2 separate regions of the Homo sapiens genome follow, and region 1 is linked to region 2. Evidence: promoter capture Hi-C in human tissues and cell types (Jung and others, 2019). All regions are on one chromosome and are shown on one strand. Each heading gives the region's core, a stretch centred on a gene start or on the middle of the fragment in contact. The rest is flanking DNA. Distances are from core to core; before and after follow the strand shown. Region 1 holds the start of KLHL35 (kelch like family member 35). Region 2 holds the start of OR2AT4 (olfactory receptor family 2 subfamily AT member 4).

Region 1 (4,040 bases), core at 949-3,448, 340 kb after region 2:
ATACTAACAGCAGGGCGCCTTGGCCGCCCCGGGGTCTGTAGCGGGAGAGCAGGGAAGTTACTGGAACCTGGAAATATATCTGTGTAAGGAGGGTCCCGTGACAGGAGCTGAAGCCCTGGGTCAAGGGACTCAGGCTGCCCCACAGAGACCCAGTGTGTGCATGTGCAGGGGAGAGAGGGTACAATAACTCCACCGCCCTCTGCTCAATCCAGCCTGTCTCCTGCCGATCTCCGGTAGGTGCTGGACACTGACCACACCCTGAGCACTCCCCTGACAGACAGCATCATACACACAGCTTTCGCGCAAACGAATTCGACAAGTATTTATTGGGAGCCCTTTCTGTGCCAGGCAGTGAGCAAGACAACCATAGTTACGGTGTGCCCGGAGCTCCCAGCCTGGCGGGGGTGCCATGGGGAGGCACCGGGTGTTAGGGGAGTTCATAGAAGGGCCGCTGGACCCAGGTGGAGGGGAGTCAGGGAGGGCGTCCCTGAGGGGAACCTTCCAGCTGAGAAGGATGGGCGAATTCTGAAAGGTTAGAGCCCAGGCTGAGGGAAGCTGGCCCTCTCTCTAGTGAGTTCTCTTGGTGTTCTCCAGGTAGCACCGTCAGAAAGTGGAAAGAACTCTAGGGACAAATGGGGATTCTAACCCAGTGCCTGCCACAGGCTTACGGTGTGGCCGGGGCAAGTCACTCCTCTCACCTGCCCGCCCTGGCCTCAGTTATCTCATCTGAAATGGGATCATCATCCCTACCTCACAGGGCTGTGGCTTCATGACTATTACATGGGCTGTATGAAAAGTGCTAGTACACAGTACGAGCTACATGGGTGTTTCCCTATATTGCTTTTACTCAAGAGGAAGGGAGGACACTGTGTGTGCCAGTTGCTTTTATAGACATAATTTAATTTCATCCTCACAAGCTGAGAAGTTTCTTTAGCCCACACCTGCCCCTTTAGTTTGTCATAAGGGAAACAAGCACACACAGGACACCCGCCCTTCAGAAGTTTGCGGCGAGGCTCAGCAGAGGGGTGTTTGTGAAGGCGCTCTGCAGACTGAGGGGCTGGGCCATGCTGGTTATGATTTGGCCATTATGAACACAAAACCTCTGCTTGCACACCTCCAGGGACAGGGAGCTCCCTCCTTTCCATCAGCTTACTCTAGGGGGCTCAGGTCCACCCTCTGCGCCCTGCCTCTCCTTCCATCCTCCTGCTCCCAGCTGCTCTGCTGCCTCTGGAGGTCAGATCCCGCCTAGTGTCAGCCTGGCTTTCATGCCCTGGTCATCCAGGGCAGCGGATCCCCTGGTCAGCATCATGAGAGATGAGCTCCCTGGTGGGCAAGAAAGTTAACTACTTTTGCCCAAGTAGAGCGACTGGATCCTGAATCCACCTGGCTCCAGGGTTTGCATGCCACACTTGCCAGGGTGGGGGTGTGTCCCAAGGAGCAGCCAGGACCGGTGGAAGGAAGTGAGACCGGTCATCACAGCACGCTGCAACCAGTCTGTCCTCCACTGGCTCAGAAAGCACAACCATGCTCTGAGTTGAGACTCAAGAGGGCAGGTCTCATCAGCATAAGGATGGACTTCTTGCAAAGGTGCCCCACAGCACAAGCAGCTCCCTGGGGGAGAAAGAGTCCCCTCCTAGGAAGTGTGTCAGTACTTTTTCATTTTACTGTCTACTGCGCTGGGCACTCTGGACACACAGTGACATCAGATCCAGCATTCACTCTGGGGATCCCCAGTCTGGGGGTCAAACGACACCCAGTTGGAACACAGAAGGTAAAAATTCCCAGGTAGGGCTCAATGGGTATCCTCCCTTCTCGGCTGAGTCTAGGCACTTCAAGCCAGGGGTCATGATGCAGATTGAAGGGCCCAGCCTATAGAAGCTGACTCGAACATGCCACCATCACTCTTTTACACACCCACATCCACTTGAAGCCATTACCCAAGCACCTCCTCCGCATCCTCCCCATCTCAGACTTGCGGACACCACGCAGCCGGGTCAGCCCTGCAGCCTAAGCCTTGCCCCATGCACCTGGCACTTACCTGGCCATACCCTCTCCCAAGTGCTCCGCAGCTGCTGCTCTCACAGGTATCACTCCCGTTTGTGCCTGCCGCCCGCACCCCTGGCAGCCCAAGCTCCAGTGTTCATGCTGCTCTGCCCAGACTCCCGTTTGCTGTTCGCTCGGGCTCAGCTGCGGGAGGACAAAGGGGCTGGACGCCAGGAGGGAGGGGAAGGGAGGGGAAGGGAGAAGCGAGCAGGGAGGGGGATGCTGGGCTTTTGTTCCACTCTTGGACTAGCCCTGGGAGGGAGGGAAAGAAAGGGGGGGCATAAGAGTGGGATTGACTGTGTGTGGAACTCCAGGATTTGGTATGCCTGGGTTTGGGGGTGACCTGGTGCTGGCCTTGTCCCGGAATGACGATGGGTTCGAAGGTGTGTGGTGCTGGAGTTGGGGTGTGGGAGGGGTGTCATCATGCAGTTGTAGGCATGTAGGTTTCAGGGTGACTATGCGTGATTGTGGAAGTACATGGAATGAAGTGACTGTGTAGCATTGGGCTGCGTGTGGACATGTGGCTGTGTGACCATGTAGATGCCAATGTGACTAAGCATGTGGGGCGGGGGGCACAGTGGCTCTGAGTCTCATTCCCTTGAGCTCAGGGAGAGGCGGGAGCTGACCTCTGCCCCAGGAAGCAGAGCACTTGCCAGACATTCAGTAGCAGGGGCAGGAGGGCCGGTCCTCGAGGTTACTGTGGGGGCCCAGTGGAGCTTCCAACATTTGCAGAGGGCTCTTTTCTTTTTTACCTATAAGGTGCCAGAATCTCCTAGACCCCAAGAATTCTATCCAGAAGATCCCTGTTTGGAAGAGACACGTCCCTTGGCTCCCAGGAAGCATGGAGTTAATTTGATGCAGGCTGGAGCTGGGGCTCAGCTTCCCCCTTTTCCCTCAGGTCACACCCATGACCAGGCAGACTCTCAGGACAAAGAGGGGAGTTACAGGCCTGCTCTGACACCACCACTGACTCCTGCCCACAGACAGCAGAGGTCCCAAGGACTGGAAGGAAAGGACACCTGTGGTCCCAGGGCTGTACTTTGGCTTTCAGCTCAGGTGCCCCCAGTCCTGGGCATGGGCATGGGCCCTCCTCAGGCAGGTCCAAAGCTCGGAGAAGTCAAAGCCAAACTCCTGGCATGGGGAAGAGGCCTCCCTGTGCTGAGGGCTTGTCCCAACATAGCCGGGAGGTTCAGAATGCCTTCATGTGGCTGTGAGGGCACCTGCCAGTCCCACTCCCAGCCCTACATTGGACCCAGGAGCCCTCCCCCTCTGCGTGTCATTCCTAGCTTATGGGAGGCACACATATGCGCTGGGGCCAGAGTCTGGATGGGATTCTGGCTTGGCCTGTTCTAAGCTGTGTGGCTTTTGGAGGTCACTTTACCTCTCCAAGACTGTCTCCCCATCCACCATATGAGGATACCGGCTCCCAGCCACTGGCACCATGGCGGACCCAGGGAAGGGGAGGCACCATTCTGCCACTTTCCCATTCATTCCTGAGAATGGTTCCTCCTCAGATTATAGGGTCAGAACTGAAACCTAGACCCAGCGCACTTGTCCCCACCCTCCTGCTGGCAATTCAGAGACAACACACATCAAGATGGCAGCTTTAATCACATTGGCCAAGGGCCCTAGGTTCCCTCTGTTCAGGCCCACTTAGCCACACACCCACCCTGGCCATATCCAGAACACTTCTACCAGGTGGGCCCTGCCCTGTGGCCACTGATGTGGGAACCTGAGGTCACATCAGTCTGTGGACTCCTGGGTTAGGTGACCCTTCTGCCTTGAGGTCTGCTGGACACCTGGGCATGGGATCCAGTAGTCCTGAGCTCACTCTTTTGGCCATCTCCAGCTGCTCCTAGAGGACGTGGCTCAGGCCCGCTCCTGGGGCAGGGGGTTGGCGGTGGCATGAGGTGGGTTGGGGAGGAGGACGTGTCTCCACATTGCAGCTGGCTTCCTCCTGGGCTGAACCTCCTTGTGCTTTGAGACTGACAGGAAGA
Region 2 (3,710 bases), core at 149-2,648:
CTGTCTATTTATGTGTCCACCACACCAGGAGCACTTTCAGAGCAGTAATGGGGTCTGATCGTTTCTATTTGATACTGCACCATCCTTCCCAGGAGCTTAGTGCTCTGGAATGCAGCTTTCCAACTTGCCTTGTTTTGCTGATAAATCATCAAATAGGAATGAAGGGGCCATTAGTGATTAAATAGTTTTCACCTAACCTCTTTTTTTTTTTTTTTTTTGAGATTGAGTCTTGCTCTATCACCCAGGCTGGAGTGCAGTGGCACGATCTCGGCTCACTGCAACCTCTGCCTCCCGGGTTCAAGCGATTCTCATGCCTCAACCTCCCGAGTAGCTGGGATTACAGGCGCTTGCCACCATGTCCGGCTAATTTTTGTATTTTTAGTAGAGATGGTGTTTCACCATGTTGGCCAGGCTGGTCTTGAAGTCCTGATCTCAAGTGATCTGCCCGCCTCGGCCTCCCAAAGTGCTGGCATTTCACCTAACCTCTTTATTATATAGATGGGGACAGAAAAGGGAGTCCCAGAAATGGGCTGTGACTTTCCCAAGGTCACACAGTAAGTGGGTGATAGAACTAGAACTAGACTGTCAACAGAGCTAGATTATCAACTCACCTTGAGCTCTCCTGGACCAGCTCTGCCACTCTCTTGCTGTGATGCTGGGTCTCTGAGCCTCAGTTTTCCCATCTATAAAATGAGGACTTTGGAAGCAATGATCTCCAGCTTGATAAATATTTTGAGTATCTACTCTGTGTTTAGATAAATGAGAGATTCGAAGACAGATGTGTCATGGCCTCAGCCTCTTAGGAAGGAGAGCAAGGGCGCTCTCATTTGTTAAGCTTCTGTTGCCTGCTTGATTCTTTACAGTCATTACACATCATTACGACGCCCAAACTCATGCAGTTCTCTCATGATATTCTCACCATCCTGCACTGTTTCCATAGAAAAGGAGCAGGATATACGTGAAGCACAGAATCTAGGTCTATTAACTTTGCAGTTAGAAAGGCCTGAGTTTCCTTCCTGGCTCCACCACTTTGTGCTTTCCTCCAATGGACTGCAATTCCCTCACAAATTATTCCCATTTCTCTTATCGTCATCAGCTTTGCCTCCTTGTGAGGAATTCTCTTCCAAGATCATTAGCCTCTTGCTTGTGACTGCACAGCCCTGCCCCTGCCTGCGAGGGTGTCTGGTCTACACTCACCCAGGCTGACTGCGTGGTTGACTTGGATCCTGGGACCCTGACATTCCCAGGATCTTTACTGTGGTTGTACATGCCCCCAACCTCCCTGAGCCTATCTCCCCATCCCAGTCTCTGCCTGCTCTGCGCACTCCATCCCCAGCCCAGCTCACCTACCAATCCTGGTCCGCCTTGATGTCTTGTGTAGAGTCGTCACAGTTGGCCTTGGTTGGGAAGAGCCAGGTAGAAACTCAACCATGGCCCTTTAAACCCTCGGGCCCCTCTCTGCAACCAGGCCTGCTGGGGCTCTCTCCCCACAAGAAGGCTCACCCGTGGGACCAGATAACTGCCAGTCAGCTGAGAACAACTTCCGAGGGTGGAGTGGGGGACTTTGTTCTGGGCTTTGCTGATAATGAAAACAACATCATTAACAACCCTCATGGGTCCCAGAACTTTATCACCAGTATTATTCCTGTTTTCCCATCTGGTCCTCACAATAGCCAGGGAAGACAGGCAGAGTCAGGATTATTTCCACTATTTTACATTTGAGGAAACTGAGATCTAGAGAAGTGAGGTGACTTGCCCAAGGTCATATGAGTGGCTGGTGGCAGAGCTGGGATTTGTACCCAAGGCTCCAATTCTGGTTCAGTGGTTCAGCAACATGTTATCTAATGACTAAGACCCGAGTTATTCCCAGTAATATGACTTTGAACAAATCCCTTAACCTCACTGGGTCTTCATTTTGTCATCTGTGGAATGGGTATAACGACACTAACTCTCTCACAGGATAACTGGGCAGGTTGAGGTGCTTCACCCAGTTCCTGCCACTTATTAGGCATTCAATAAGTGGGAGCTATTATTTTAATGGACCAAAGCAGTAAAGCCTTGTTCAATGAGTATGTGATACTTCCGCTGCTGTGCAATGAGAACTTGCAAAGGTTTTGTGGAAAGAATGTGAGGGTGGAAGTCTCTGCCCCAACCCCATACAGGACAAAGTCAAGAGTCACAGACTCTTCCTGCCTCAATCTTTCTGATTCTCTCCTTTGGCTCCAGTGTTCTGTTTCTGACTTGACTGACTTGGTCACTCCTACTAATACTCATAAAATTTTAATTTTTTTTTAATTTCACAAGTAATAAACAGAACCTCATTGTAGAACATTTTAATCAATACAGAGCTTTACTGAGTCAAAAGTGAAAGTTCTAGGCCGGGTGTGGTGGCTCACGCCTGTAATCCCAGCACTTTGCCGGGCCGAAGGGGGAGGATCTCTTGAGTCCAGGAGTAAGAGAGCAGCTTGGACAACTGGCAAAACTCTATCTCTACTGAAAAATACAAAAAAATTAGCTGGGCATGGTGGCATGCACCTGTAGTCTCAGTGAGAGGTGACAGCGTGCTGGCAGTCCTCACAGCCCTCGCTCGCTCTCGGTGCCTCCTCTGCCTGGGCTCCCACTTTGGCGGCACTTGAGGAGCCCTTCAGCCCACCGCTGCACTGTGGGAGCCCCTTTCTGGGCTGGCCAAGGCCGGAGCCGGCTCCCTCAGCTTGCAGGGAGGTGTGGAGAGAGAGGCGCGAGTGGGAACCAGGGCTGCGCCTGCGCTTGCAGGCCAGCTGGAGTTCTGGGTGGGCGTGGGCTTGGCGGACCCCACACTCAGAGCAGCCGGCCGGCCCTGCTGTCCCCAGGCAATAAGAGGCTTAGCACCCGGGCCAGCGGCTGTGGAGGGTGTACTGGGTCCCCCAGCAGTGCCAGCCCACTGGCGCTGTGCTCGATTTCTCTCTGGGCCTTAGCTGCCTTCCCGCGGGGCAGGGCTCGGGACCTGCAGCCCGCCATGCCTGAGTCTCCCACCCCCTCCCTGGGCTCCTGTGCGGCCCCCGCCTCCCCGATGAGTGCTGCCCCGTGCTCCACAGCACCCAGTCCCATCGACCACCCAAGGGCCGAGGAGTGTGGGCGCATGGCTCCGGGACTGGCAGGCAGCTCCACCTGCAGCCCCGGTGCGGGACCCACTGGGTGAAGCCAGCTGGGCTCCTGAGTCTGGTGGGGACGTGGAGAACCTTTATGTCTAGCTCAGGGATTGTAAATACACCAATCGGCACTCTGTATCTAACTCAAGGTTTGTAAACACACCAATCAGCACCCTGTGTCTAGCTCAGGGTTTGCGAATGCACCAATGGACACTCTGTATCTAGCTGCTCTGGTGGGGCCTTGGAGAATCTTTGTGTCTAGCTCAGGGATTGTAAACGCACCAATCAGCGCCCTGTCAAAACAGACCACTGGGCTCTACCAATCAGCAGGATGTGGGTGGAGCCAGGTAAGAGAATAAAAGCAGGCTGCGCGAGCCAGCAGTGGCAACCCGCTCAGGTCCCCTTCCACACTATGGAAGCTTTGATCTTTCGCTCTTTGCAATAAACCTTGCTACTGCTCACTCTTTGGGTCCACACTGCTTTTATGAGCTGTAACACTCACCGCGAAGGTCTGCAGCTTCACTCCTGAAGCCAGCGAGACCACAAGCCCACCAGGAGGAACGAACAACTCCAGATGCGCTG

Evidence for each region. The method cuts DNA at HindIII sites, captures the fragments that hold promoters and counts their contacts. A contact is called where the count stands out against the background at its distance.
Region 1: a contact is called between the fragment with the promoter of KLHL35 here and the fragment with the promoter of OR2AT4 in region 2, in 1 of the 25 tissues and cell types used here (H1 embryonic stem cells).

The regions. Positions count from the first base shown.
Region 1 is chr11:75,431,005-75,435,044 of GRCh38, forward strand. It overlaps KLHL35 (kelch like family member 35), which reads right to left and starts at 2,199. Exons shown (of 7, transcript NM_001039548.3): 1 at 2,039-2,199. GDPD5 (glycerophosphodiester phosphodiesterase domain containing 5) reads right to left here. Exons shown (of 17, transcript NM_030792.8): 17 at 3,636-4,040. RefSeq lists an enhancer at 837-1,723. The HindIII fragment of the contact is 12,939 bases long and covers 1-4,040 here.
Region 2 is chr11:75,095,478-75,099,187 of GRCh38, forward strand. OR2AT4 (olfactory receptor family 2 subfamily AT member 4) reads right to left here and starts at 1,399. Exons shown (of 2, transcript NM_001405852.1): 1 at 1,351-1,399. RefSeq lists a cis regulatory region at 1,258-1,773. The HindIII fragment of the contact is 12,596 bases long and covers 1-2,191 here.